5 separate regions of the Homo sapiens genome follow, and regions 1, 2, 3 and 4 are each linked to region 5. Evidence: promoter capture Hi-C in 16 types of primary human blood cells and fetal thymus (Javierre and others, 2016). All regions are on one chromosome and are shown on one strand. Each heading gives the region's core, a stretch centred on a gene start or on the middle of the fragment in contact. The rest is flanking DNA. Distances are from core to core; before and after follow the strand shown.

Region 1 (2,700 bases), core at 168-2,667, 170 kb before region 5:
AGATTATAATTTATTGATTGATTTACTTTTAAACTGAAAAGCTTAGAATGAATGCTAAATATACCACAATATTTTCATTCTTTCTTAAAATTTTAATCTCAGTAGGCTGGGCGCGCTGGCTTATGCCTATAATCCCAGCATTTCGGAAGGCTGAGGCAGGGAAGGGAAGGGATCACCCGAGGTCAGGAGATCAACACCAGCCAACATGGTGAAACCTCATCTCTACTAAAAATATAAAAATTAGGCAGCGTGGTGGCACACGCCTATAATCCCAGCTACTTGCGAGGCTGAGGCAAGAGAATTGCTTGAACCTGGGAGGCGGAGGTTGCAGTGAGCCGAGACTGCGCCACTGCACTCCAGCCTGGGAAACAAGAGCAAGACTCTGTCTAAACAAAAAACAAACTAATCTCAGTAATGTAGATTGTGAGGAAGAAAATAAGATATAAACAGTTGTCAATTTAAAGGGTTCTATCTATGCTTTTACTTGCCACACCTGCCATAAACTGTGCACAATTAGTAGACAGGTGTGGAGAGCAGTAGAGGGAAGGGGATGAATCTGTCCCACAGGGTCTGCCACTATTGTATTTTTTTATGACACTGGAATTTTAACAACATTAATAACCTCATTTTTCAGCACTTTCTAGAATTCCAATCAAGGTAAATATCATAAGAAATTAAATGAGAGTAAAAGTCAAGAAAACATTTTGAAGGAATATAATGAAGGTTTAGGGTACTCAACACAATGCAAGTAATGAAAGTTCACTGGTATCCTGGAAAGAAAATGTCAACTGATGATTCCGCAATTGTAGTTTCATCTTTATCCACTCATCATTATCTAATAAATCAGCTGCATGGTGCTTAGCACATATTAAGCACTCTGTTTGTTGAATACTCAGATGCTTTGAAAAATGATGGGTTTTGCTTTCTATATCCTCTTTCATTTGAAATGTCAGAAAAAAAGGCTCCCTTAAAGCAGAAAGTGCCTATTGGTAATCAGAGGGTATATACAGTTCATTAGTACTTACCTGCTCTCGAATCATATTTTTGTAGTGAGTCACAATATTGTCATGCTGTTCTAATGTTTTTTTCACCTCTTCTTCTTTTTTATCTTCTTCACTGGACTTATAAATAGCCTTAGTTATAACACCTATAAAAGGAAGCTTATTTAAAATTTGTTTTAAATGTTTTAAATACTATTTTACTACTAAGACTTAGTAAAAACATATAACCTAACTCCATGATAGGTAAGAAATAATCTTTTCAATCCTACTGAAAGCCAAATGTCCTTCAATGGGCTACAGATCAAGAGCTAGGAAGAAAATATACCTTTAGAGTTACCATATAACCTGTATGCATCCAGAATATACATGTACAATATAAATATAATTACTTTCCATCAAATATCAATATAAATCTTCAGTCTTACCTTCAAGTTCTTTTACCAGCTTCGTAAACTCATGATCAAATATCATGTATTCTGGACTGGGAAAGTTTGGCTGGGGTTTCTGAGATGCTCTGGAATACAACTCATGTTTGCTAATAAATCCTAGTTTCTCTATGAAATTCTCTTTGCCAATCCTCTTCTCAATCAGTTGTTTTAGCTTCTCTCTACGGAGATAAGCATATTGAGATGCTTTAAAAAAAATAAAATCAAAACAAAACATAAAAGCTTGGTCTACATAATGCTTTGGCAAAAAAAAAAAAAAAGCATCATTATCTCTTGATGCCATTAGAAAACCATCTTCCCCTTACTTACTTCATGTAGCTCTCAAGTGAGTTATCATTGAAATAAATCGAAATGCCCAACAAAAGGGCACATAAGCCTTGGACCAACTGCTCTTCTTCTCCAAGATTTTCTGCAATTTGTCCTGTAAGCTGAAATCTTTGTTAAGGAGGCTAAGGATTGAAAATATCTAGTACATTTTGCAATTTGAATTTGACATACATTAATACTTCACATAAGAGTTCCCATAAGAAATTCCATATATAGGCTAGGTGTGGTGGCTCATGCCTGTAATCTCAGCACTTTGGGAGGCCAAGGTGGGTGGATCACCTGAGGTCAGGAGTTTGAGACCAGCCTGGCCAACATGTCTCTACTAAAAATACAAAATTAGCCGGGTTGTGGTTGCGCACACCTGTAATCCTAGCTACTCAGGAGGCTGAGTGAGGCAGGAGAATTGCTTGAACCTGGGAGGCGGAAGTTGCAGTGAGCCGAGATCGCGCCACTACACTCCAGCCTGGGCGACAGAGCAAGACTTCATTTCAAAAAAAAAAAAAAGAAATTTCATATATATATTCCAACCCGGCATAAAACAAACCACACACACACAACTTAAACAAGCATCATAACAACTTTAACAGTTTAAAAAGTTGCAACACAGATAAGATAGTGGAGAATTCAAATATTTTGGGCATAGAACTACTTCTAATTGAGGAGAAAAACTAAAAAAGATATAAATACTTACATGTACGTTACTAAAACATAAAGGATACAAATGGAACATTGGCTGAATTGTGAAGAAAATGCGTTACTGCAATGGGACAATTGCTTAGCCAGGTACAAAGCAACATTAATAATCCAACTCTTGTTTGTATTTTGCTTCCCTGCAACAGATAAATTGGTAGAAATCTTTCCATTCATTTTATATTTTTCAAACTTAAAGTTGCCCTAAGATCCCTTCCATTTGCATGAAAAGAACT
Region 2 (2,700 bases), core at 97-2,596, 150 kb before region 5:
TTTCTAATAATTAAAACTACCCTAGAATGAAAATGATTATCTTATAAGGTTATGAACTTTCTGGGAGCTATTGGCAGTATCTTCCCAATAAAATGCCATAGAAGAGACTCCTGCAGGGATAAAAAGTAGACTAGCCATAAAACTATAATTTTTTAAAAAAATAAAATATTTTATAACTAAAAAACTTTTCAAAAGATGTTTTCCCTAAATATAGTCTGCAAAATTTGAATTAAAACTCAGCAAGCAGATCAATTCTGTTTTTAGTAGCTCAGAATGCAATCATGATAACTGTGATGATGAATAGTTCCAACACAGAATGTGTATGTCCCAACAGGAAAACAATGATGCATTTTTATTTAGTGTATAATAGAGAACTTAAAATCCAAGCAACTCTAAATAAAGTTATACATAAAGTATTCCAACAGGTTCTAACAGAATAGCAGAAGATAACTCCTGGCCTGTAAAGTCATGAGTGAATCTACTATTCAGTATTGCAGGTGGAGAATATATTAAAATGAATTAAACTCAGTTCCTCTGCTTTGGAGTTTACGGTCTTCACGACAAGTGTAAGAGATAAAAGCTTTACTAAGCTACAGAAAGTCAGTTTATTCACTTTTTAAAAGTAAAGAATTCTTAAAGAATCAACTTGTTATATAACGAGAATACTGTATTTTTCTGTTTACATGCTGTACTCTAATAATTTTTTGGTAATTTTTTTTTTTTTTCCTGAGATAGAGTCTCACTCTGTTCCCAGGCTGGAGTGCGTGGCGTGATTATGGTTCAATGCAGCCTCAACCTCCTGGGCTTAAGTGATCCTCCCCTTCAGCCTCCTGAGTAGTTGGGACAATAGGTGGACACCACCACACCGGGCTGATAAAGACCATGTTGCCTAGGTTGGTCTCAAACTCCTAAGCTCAAGTGATCCCCACCTGCCTTGGGCTCCCCAAGTGCTGGGATCATAGGTGTGAGTCACCACACCTGACCTACTTTACTTTTTAACAGTGACACTTCCTTCAGAATAATTCTTTACATAGTACCCTAAACCATAAAACATGTGTAGCTTCCTCAAACAATTTAAATTTTCACTGTTTGATACGAAATACATGCTTTTTTATATCATCAGATTCTCTCACCCTCTCTAATCACATTTTGGAAATTACTTTTCTAGAGGAATTTCCTTATTTAAGAAAGCAGTGTAGGCCGGGCATGTGGCTCACACCTATAACAGCAGCACTTTGGGAAGCTGAGGCAGGAGAATTGCTTGAGCTCAGGAATTCCTGACCAGCCTGGCAATACAGTGAGACCTCATGTCTACTAAAAATAAAAAATCCAGTCAGGTCTGGTGGCTTGCGCCTGTAGTCCCAGCTATTCAGGATGCTGAGGTGGGGGGATTTCTTGAGCCAGGGAGGTTGAGGCTGCAATAAGCTGTGAAGACACCACTGCACTCAGCCTAGGCAACTAAGTAAGAACCTGTCTCTTAAACAAAACAAAACAAAATAAAGCAGTTTTGAACAAAGGTATCAAGGTTACCACTTGGTGACACTGTTTCTAAAACATTAAAAAACTATTAACTTCTTAAATGTATAATACCAACATTTGAAAACAGAAATGATGAGTTGGGAGTACAAATAGACTCTGTAACTAAGTTCTCCTGGTAAATACTTTTGTAACAGTTTTTAGGCATATTCTAACTAGGGTAACTGCATAATTTATAATCCAAACCAGGACACTTTTGAAGTGAAAGAGGATGCTATTAGTAATTACAAAACGAGTAATGTACTGGCAAACTGGGACACAGATTACCCTAATTATCAGTCCTATGCAGGCAACTCCCATGGCATGGGACAACATTCAGCCTCTAATTACTAGCGGACCTAACCATCTAGTTAGGTCCACAACTTCCGAGAAACACAGGTATAATTCAGAGACATTCAAAGGCCCACAAGAATTATGAGTTCATAAGTAAGGAGACTAGTATAAACTTAACAGTTTGGAGAAGGAGGATTCAATAAAGGAGTAAGTAGACTACTTCAAAGAACTTCAAAATTTTCTCTGATGAGGAAATAATTTGGGATCCTACTGTCCTCACTTTTATTATTACCACTAAGCTTTCACCATAAAGGATCAATAAATCACAGGTGGTCTGTCAATTTAACATGTTTTGGACTTAAAACTCAGACTAATCATCTTTGGGGGCAGGACATGATCATTTATTTCCTAGCATCCAGTGCCTGGCTCTCAGTAAATGCTTACTGAATGAATTTATTTGAACTTAATAGTTTGAATATTAAAATTTATCCTATTAGAGCCCTAAGTGAAGAAAGCAGGTTTTTAAAAATTCAAATCAACAATGTAACCTATTATTCCTTAATGTAAAACCCATCAGGAAACTGTATGTCTGAATTTGCTTTAAAATCATACAGCAGAGAGGAATAAACGATGAAACAAAATTGCCAGATGTTAATAACTGTCAAAGCTAAGTAATGGGTAGGCAAGATCTCTAGCTAGAGGATAACTGCAAATTTCCATATTACAGTTTTTTTAAGCCAACCTGAAATCCATCAAATATTCTGGATTTATCAAATACAAGCGATTTTCTTCTCTTTGAAAAGATCACTGTCAAAATTCTTACCACATTTATGTCTAAGGATAGTATACCTGTAGCATTAGATGTAGATTGGTCACTTTCTGTGCAGACCA
Region 3 (2,700 bases), core at 69-2,568, 130 kb before region 5:
GTTGTGAACAAAAACTAGAACCATGAGAAATTATACCAATTATACGTGTAAGCAAAGGCATGAAACAAGTAAACCATCTTCTCTCATCATTAATCATTAGATTACAACCTTTATAGCTAAGTTTTTTATAGCCTATAGTTTATATATTATATTGTGCATTTATAACCTGTAAATGACCATTTATTGTAAGGTAAATGAAAAAAATAAGATAAAAATGAAATGGCCCTTTGTTACCATAGTAAAAATAAATTTAATATAGGAATGTAAAATAAAAAAATGCCCGTTCTAAGTACTTACACAGATGCTCCTCAATTTACAATGGGGTTATGTCCTGATAAGCCCATCAAAAACTGAAAATATCATAGGTTGAAAATGTATTTAATATGTTTAACCTACTTTAAATGTGCCCAGAACACTTACATTATCCTACAGCTAGGCAAAATATAACAGAAATCATATTTTATAATAAAGTATTATCTCATGTAATTTACTGAATACTGTACTGAAGGTGAAAAAACAGAATGGTTGTATGGGTATTCGAAGTATAGATTCTACTGAATGTATATTGCTTTCACACCATCGTAAATCAAAAAATCGTGAAGTTGAACCATCATCTGTCTGTATAGCTCTGGATAGTTTTCAGGCCTGTTTATATGGCTGGCATTTAAGTACGCATGCATAGATATATTTACTCTTCAAATGTATTTCTAGTAGTACTTTTTCCAGAGGTGTAAACAATATTTAAAAACATTTCTGGATCTTCTCTTTGGAATTCTATTCTATACTAAGTTCACAATCTATATTATGAAGAAAAGAAATTGCTTTATAAAAGGAGATATCCTAATAAAATCAGTCCTCAGAGTGAAGAAATATCAAATAATCTTCGTTTATACTGGTAGTTAATTAAACAGGTACATGTATACTTTTTTTGTTGTTTTTGTTTTGAGACGGAGTCTCGCACTGTCGCCCAGTCTGGAGTGCAGTGGCACGATCTCTGCTCACTGCAAGCTCCGCCTCCCAGGTTCACACCATTCTCCTGCCTCAGCCTCCCAAGTAGCTGGGACTACAGGGGCCCGCCACCACGCCTGGCTAATTTTTTGTATTTTTAGTAGAGATGGGGTTTCACCATGTTAGCCAGGATGGTCTTGATCTCCTGACCTTGTGATCTGCCTGCCTCAGCCTCCCAAAGTGCTGGCATTACAGGCGTGAGCCACCGTACCTGGCCAGGTACATGTATACTTTTTAACATTTATCTGAATATTCTATAAACTAGTTTTGTGAATTACATGATTTAATAAAGAACCCAGTCAGAAAAATAAAGAAAAATTGGCCACAATTTATTGAATTAAAAATCTAAGAAATACTTTAAAAAAAAAAGGAAGGAAAAAATGTATTTAAAAATATTGTTCTGGCTGGGCGTGGTGGCTCATGCCTGTAATCCCAACACTTTGGGAGGCCAAGAAGGGCGGATCATGAAGTCTGGAGATCGAGACCATCCTGGCCAATATAGTGAAACCCTGTCTCTACTAAAAATACAAAAATTAGCTGGGTGTGGTGACACTAATCCCAGCTACTTGGGAGGCTGAGGCATGAGAATCGCTTGAATACAGGAGGCAGAGGTTGCAGTGAGCCGAGACTGTGCCACTGCACCCTAGCCTGGCAACAGAGTGAGACTCTGTCTCAAAAAAAAAAAAAAAAAAAAAAAAAGTAAAATTGTTCTTCTACTTACTCAGTGATACCATATAAGTTACATCATCTCTGGGCTTCCATTTTCTCATCTTTAGAAAGTAGAAAAATACCACCTACCTCACTGGCTGCTATGAGGATTACATAAGATAAACATGAAAGATAAATTTTAAAGCTCTCTACAGTATCACAATAATAGAAACAACTACTGATCTTTACTACCCAGCAAGGAAATAGCTTGACAAGAGTCAAGGCACAATGCTCTGGTATCATCTGATGTCAAACAAGAGATTCAAATGTCACAAAAGGTAATGCTTCATACTTTAATAAGTTAGTTTATTTGTTAGTATTTTTATTATATATAGGCAACTTTGTGATGTACCTTTTAAACACTGCTTTAGATACGAATATTTCCTTCTTCATTTAAAAAAGTTAAGCACCTCAAGGAAATTGGTAAAACAAAACAAACCAAAAAAACTTGGTTACTTTAGTTATGAAGAAAACAAGTATCAATGTTAAAAGTAAATGAAACTTAAAAGAGATTAGAGAGAAGAAAATAAAAAAACTAGTGAGTTCTACGAGTTAAGGTAAGAAATGTCAGTAACTAAAACATCATTACTGAGTATGCATTATTTTAAAGGGACAATATCAATATACATTCTCTGAACTAGAATACCTTCCAGTTCTTACTGAATATAGGTAAAAAATATATGTATACATACTGAAATATTACTTTTATAGATTTTTGTTTGTTTGTTTTTTAGAGGCAGGGTTTCACTATGTTGTCTAGCCTTGAGTGCAGTGGGTATTCACAGGTGCAATCATTGCTCACTGCAGCCTCGAACTCCTGGGCTCAAGCAGTTTTCCCACTTTAGTCTCCCAAGTAGTTGGCACTACAGGCATGCACCACTGCACTTGGCAAGTATTTTTAAATGAACTGTCTAAAAACTTTTTTCCAGGAAATACACACAAGTAATTTTGAATAAATTGTCCTACCAGAGAAAAAGCTTTAAT
Region 4 (2,700 bases), core at 4-2,503, 190 kb before region 5:
TAAGGTATGATGATTGTCCCTGTGTTATGGATAATAAAATTGAAGTAATTTGCCCAAAGTCACACAGTTTGAAAGTGGTGGAGTTGGAATTTGATCCAAGGTATTCCAGCTCCACAGTCCATACTTTTAACCATTGTCCTAAGTGGCCTCTCCAGAAATGAGTGTTATTCTAATTTTACAGACGAAGGAATAAGCGGTTTGCAGAAATTATGTAACTTGCTCAAAGTCACTATTAGAATTATAATGCAGCCGGGCACGCTGGCTCACGCCTGTAATCCCAGCACTTTGGGAGGCCAAGGTGGGCGGATCACAAGGTCAGGAGCTCGAGACCAGCCTGACCAACATGGTGAAATCCCATCTCTACTAAAAATACAAAAAAAATTAGCTGGGCATGGTGGCGCGCACCTGTAATCCCAGCTACTCTGGAGGCTGAGGCAGGAGAATCGCTGGAACCCAGCAGGAGGTTGCAGTGAGCCTAGATCACGCCATTGCACTTCAGCCTGGGCGACAGAGCAAGACTCCATCTTAAAAAAAAAAAAAAAGAATTATAATGCTGAGATTTTATATTAGGTCTTTTGACTTCCCACCAGGTTTCCTTCAATAATGACAGGAGCAATAACAAAGTTAACACTTTCATATAGGGCTTACCATGTACTATGCACTTTACTTACATGGGCTCATTTCATCCACAGCTCTGTGGCATTCGTATTATTATTACTGCCAGTTTACATGAAGAAGTTGAGGCACAGAGAGGTTAAATAACTTGCCCAAAGCCACACAGCTGGAAAATGGCAGAGTAAGGATTTGAACTCAGGCAGTCTGTTCTCAGAATCTACACTCTTAATTATGACATCACACAGCCTCTCCATGCTGTACACTTGTGTTTCTCAGGGGGAACCAGTAAGGGAAAAGAGGAAAGGGAAGGACACTAACATTTACTGGTTATGCTTCTGTATCCTCTCATAGATTATATTATTGTTGACATTTTCACTGCCCCTCTATATCAGATGTGTCCTTATGGGATTATGCTTTGCATTGATATTAGTTTGGACATGACTTGCTTTGGCCAATGACATGTGAATGGAAATGTTGCCACTTCAAAGCAGAAGTTATAAATGCCACTGTGAGATTCTGCCATCTCTCGTTTGCCTCTGTCACAAGACCTGCCTTTCCCAGAGAGAAGTTGCTGCTTTTTTTTGAGACAGGGTTTCACTCTGTTGCCCAGGCTGGAATGTAACGGCACGATCTCTGCTCATTGCAATCTCTGCCTCCTGGTCCCAAGCGATCCTCCCACCTTAGCCTCCTGAGTAGCTGGGACTATCGGCATGTGCCACCACTCCTGGCTAATTTTTGTATTTTTTTTTTGTAGAGATGGGGGTTTTGCCATGTTGGCCAGGCTGGTCTCCAATTCCTGGGCTCAAGCGATACACCTGCCTCACCTTCCCAAAGTGCTGGGATTACAGGCACGAGGCACTATACCCAGCCAGAAGCTGCTTCTTCAGTGTTGGTCTTGAAATGAAGATTTGGAGCAGAGCCACAGCTGGCATGCCAAAGATATGAATGTGTACAAGAAGTACCTTTGGGTAAGCCACTGAAATTTAAGACTTGTTTGTTTCTACAGCATAACTCAGCCTAAGCAGACTTTTATGTGTGTATTAAAAGTTTAAGGCTGGGCGTGGTGGCTCATGCCTGTAATCCCAGCCCTTCGGGAGGCTGAGGCAGGTGGATCACTTGAGGTCAGGAGTTCGAGACCAACCTGGCCAACATGGTGAAACCCACTCTTAGGCCAGACGTGGTGGCTCACGCCTGTAATCCCAGCACTTTGGGAGGCTGAGGCGGGCAGATCACGAGGTCAGGAGATCGAAACCATCCTGGTTAACATGGTGAAACCCCATCTCTACTAAAAATACAAAAAATTAGCCAGGCGTGGTGGCCGGCGCCTGTAGTCCCAGCTACTCGGGAGGCTGAAGCAGGAGAATGGCGTGAACCTGGGAGGCGGAGCTTGCAGTGAGCCGAGATCGTGCCACTGCACTCCAGCCTGGGCAACAGAGCTTCTGTCTCAAAAAAGAAAAAAGAAATTCAATAATTTTAATCTTCACAATAACCCTATTAGGTAGGTATAATTAGCTCCAGGAAGAAACTAAGATTCTTAGAGGTTTTGTAATTCGCTCAGAAATTTAAAAGTGTAGGAGCAAGGGTTTAGGTTTCCTTCTTCCTAACATAACCCTTGTTTTGTTTATGTATCTATCACCCACCCCGAGAAGTGTGCTTTAAGAGGTGCTGCCCACTCACCTACTACACACCAGGAACGTGAGTGACTAACTGCAATTAGTCAAGGCAATCATGGTGGTTTCATTCCCTTTGACAGTAATAGGTTTGCCAGTAAATGGGTCTGTGAGCCAATTATGACCATAAAACAGGAAGATGCAAATTGAGGATCTGAATGCCAATCCTGCTTCAAATACAATTCTGTCCCTATCAGCACCAGTCACAGGTTTTGGTTGCCAGTAAAACTCATATGATATAACAGACTTCATTCTAATACTTCATTTGTTAACTTTATAGAGTGATACAATACAGGAATACGGAGTGCATAGTATCTTCATGTCGTCTGGAGGCTCAGAGACTACTATGTATACATTTTCTTGGCCTCCATCACCTTTCTAGGGTGTGTATAGCTCCTGAGGAAGATTGAAGTGC
Region 5 (2,711 bases), core at 132-2,631:
ACGGTTGAATATGATTATAAAGTTGCAAAAGTAAAATAGTTTTGCGCTCTTGTTCTTAAGCTTCAGGCCCAACAAAACTGAATCTACCCCCATATAAAAGAAGTTCATCAGATTCTCTTATAGCCTATAGAGGTACCAAATGGGACAGGGCTTCTCGCAACTTGGACACAGCTAAGGACAGAGCTAATTGCTACACTAAGAGTCACATCTTGAATTGACCAAATAATTCTATTCTTTCCATAACTAGGCCTCAGGTCTGGTTCTCAATATTACAGGTTCAGGAACTAGATTTTAAGCAGTCTGACCAAGGTAATTAACCACTGGGAGATTAATGCAAACTAACCAAACTCACAAAAGACTATAAAAAGAATGTCTATTTCTTAATGTACAAGAAGGAATCAATACCTTAACATTAATGATTAATACCTTAATATTGACTAGGGTATATGGTAGACATTTGTCTATCCAGGACACTCTATTCCCTAAATCAAAGTAGTTTCGAGACCAAAATGATCATGAACATTTAGTTATCATGATTGAAAGTGTTATTTTACTGGCCTTATGGCCTCCTCGCTGCCTCAGATTCTTTGAAAATGGGGTAAGCTCTGTTCCTGTGTGATTTAAGCCTGTGCATGATTCTGACCTACCAGTCTTGCTCAGTCGTGGATTGAGCTGCATTTTTGCATTTAAGGCAAGTTTTATCGCAAGCCCTAACTCCACCCCATTTGGCTGCCATACGCGGGTGTTGTGCGTGTCCTCCAGATCCCCAGCCATCCCAGCGCTTTCCCATTCCACTCATGCCCTCTCTTCCCCTTCCTCCATCTCAGTGTTTTCCCTCACTTTCAATGGCCAGACTGGCCTTCCCAAGGTCCCTCCTAACGTCAGGTCTGTCATCACCTACCTTCTTCCACCTTGCCTCGCCTACTAATCATCACCTCCTAAACTGTCACCGTTATCTCCTACCTGGCTCACACTGGCCCCACCGCCCAGAACAGAAAGGAAGCATGGAATCCCGGTCAGGCCGCGCCTACGCGACTCAGGGCGCCCGGCGCCCGCCCCTGCCCCAGCGGCGATGCTATGAGGGAAACCGTATCGCATTTTGCATAGTCTTCGCAGTCCTACATAACCGCCACCTTTACCCTTCGCGTGGGCATCACAATCGCCTCCTCCCGCTGGGGAAGGCAGAAAGGCGCCTCCTGACGAGAACCAAGGCGTGTGGGGACGCAGGGCCTCTGCGTGTCAGGGAGCAGAACCTGGGCCGAGCCCTAGGTGAAGGGGCGGGGTGGTTGGCCCTGAGCCAATCATGGCTCGTGACGACTCGGCTCGGCCAATCAGAAGAAGGGAGGCCTGGCGCTCTCGGGGCGGGTGAGAAACCGCCCCCCCTTGCAGCTCCGCGGCCAACGCCTTCGCCCAGGGGTAGTTGGAGCGGTGCAGGTTCCCAGGCTCCAGGTACTGGGCGCCTTACGAGCTGGGAGGTGGTGCCTCTCACCCAGCTAATTGCTCTCTAGCCCTTGGCCTTCACAGGTGTTGGTGCCTGCCGTGAACGCATTCTGACCTGGGCCGTATCTGTCTCCCAAGACTTTGTGCCTATGGTTGGGGACAGAGTGAGGTCGTTGCCTTGACGACGACAGCATGCGGCCCGTGGTCCTCCTAAGTGTGAGCTTGCGGCGGACCGAGGCCCACCTGCCTCCCTGCCTGCTTCGCCCTGGACTCGTGACTGCGTCCGCAGAAGAAATCACAACAGCGCTGGAATTGCTAGTTTGCTAGGCAGCATCTTTTGGACCTGCGAACCATATGCATTTCACCTCAAATTTGTTTCCAAGTTGAAAACCTTTGGGTCTTTCTATGCGAACGGATTGAAGAAACGGTAAGTATAGTACGTTTTAAAGCTTCTATTATCTCGTTCTTTGATCTATAAAAGATTTCAATCTTTTTTTTTTTTTTTTTTTTTTTTTTTTTTTTTTTTTTTTGAGACGGAGTTTCACTCTTGTTGCCCAGGCTGGAGTGCAATGGCATGGTCTCGGCTCACCGCAACCTCTGCCTCCTGGGTTCAAGCGATTATCCTGCCTCAGCCTCCCAAGTAGCTGGGATTACAGGCATCACCACCACGCCCGGCTAAGTTTGTATTTTTAGTAGAGACAGGGTTTCTCCATGTTGGTTAGGCTGGTCTCGAACTCGCAACCTCAGGTGATCCGCCCGCCTCGGCCTCCCAAAGTGTTGGGATTACAGGCGTGAGCCACCGCTCCCGGCCCTTTAATCTGTCTTAAACAAAATAAAAAATTAGCATTCTCCAAATATTTTTATCAAAATTGTTGCTTTTAGAACCATCCAGAAATAACACCTTGCCCATTGGCCAGGTTTCTTTTTCGTTTGTATTACCTTTCCGTTCAAGAGTAGAAGGCATGAGAAGTTATAGTTTATGAGTAACTGTTTCAGGAAACAGGAGGCTTTGTAGGCTGTGATACTTTTAAAGTATTTGTGGACAGTGTCACTTGAAAAAGCAGGTGTGTTCAATGTGGTGTGTCCAGATATGCAATTGGTTGGGAGAATAAACTTGAAGCAGTCAACTTGCATTAATGTTAGCTTGGGATATGCTTCAGAACACCTCAGACATGCTTAAAGTCATTTTTTTTGGTTCACTTTGTGCTTTCAAATATTGAGGACATCAATTACAAAATGTTTTAAAATAATCCAGGTTATAGATTCAAGCT

Evidence for each region. Contacts are between HindIII fragments. The CHiCAGO score rates a contact against its expected background, and 5 or more counts as called.
Region 1: a contact is called between a fragment that was not itself captured here and the fragment with the promoter of CDKL2 in region 5, in 3 of 17 cell types (total CD8 T cells, naive CD4 T cells and naive CD8 T cells). The highest score is 6.8, in total CD8 T cells.
Region 2: a fragment that was not itself captured here is called in contact with the fragment with the promoter of CDKL2 in region 5 in 8 of 17 cell types (total CD4 T cells, total CD8 T cells, naive CD4 T cells and 5 more); the score reaches 8.5 in total CD4 T cells.
Region 3: a contact is called between a fragment that was not itself captured here and the fragment with the promoter of CDKL2 in region 5, in 1 of 17 cell types (total CD8 T cells). The highest score is 5.1, in total CD8 T cells.
Region 4: a contact is called between a fragment that was not itself captured here and the fragment with the promoter of CDKL2 in region 5, in 3 of 17 cell types (activated CD4 T cells, megakaryocytes and neutrophils). The highest score is 6.7, in activated CD4 T cells.

The regions. Positions count from the first base shown.
Region 1 is chr4:75,799,526-75,802,225 of GRCh38, reverse strand. It overlaps USO1 (USO1 vesicle transport factor), which reads right to left. Exons shown (of 24, transcript NM_003715.4): 14 at 2,494-2,604; 15 at 1,757-1,875; 16 at 1,427-1,608; 17 at 1,026-1,147. Among named protein-coding and RNA genes, the nearest start is that of USO1, 76 kb to the right of the region's middle. The HindIII fragment of the contact is 509 bases long and covers 1,163-1,671 here.
Region 2 is chr4:75,782,817-75,785,516 of GRCh38, reverse strand. USO1 (USO1 vesicle transport factor) reads right to left here. Exons shown (of 24, transcript NM_003715.4): 9 at 2,659-2,700. Among named protein-coding and RNA genes, the nearest start is that of USO1, 60 kb to the right of the region's middle. The HindIII fragment of the contact is 1,528 bases long and covers 583-2,110 here.
Region 3 is chr4:75,761,172-75,763,871 of GRCh38, reverse strand. The region is part of intron 4 of USO1 (USO1 vesicle transport factor); the gene reads right to left. Among named protein-coding and RNA genes, the nearest start is that of USO1, 38 kb to the right of the region's middle. The HindIII fragment of the contact is 2,755 bases long and covers 1-2,695 here.
Region 4 is chr4:75,821,052-75,823,751 of GRCh38, reverse strand. LOC105377284 (a long non-coding RNA gene) reads right to left here and starts at 1,235. Exons shown (of 5, transcript XR_938891.2): 1 at 672-1,235. The HindIII fragment of the contact is 3,434 bases long and covers 1-2,700 here.
Region 5 is chr4:75,629,198-75,631,908 of GRCh38, reverse strand. CDKL2 (cyclin dependent kinase like 2) reads left to right here and starts at 1,381. Exons shown (of 14, transcript NM_001330724.2): 1 at 1,381-1,867. The HindIII fragment of the contact is 1,829 bases long and covers 63-1,891 here.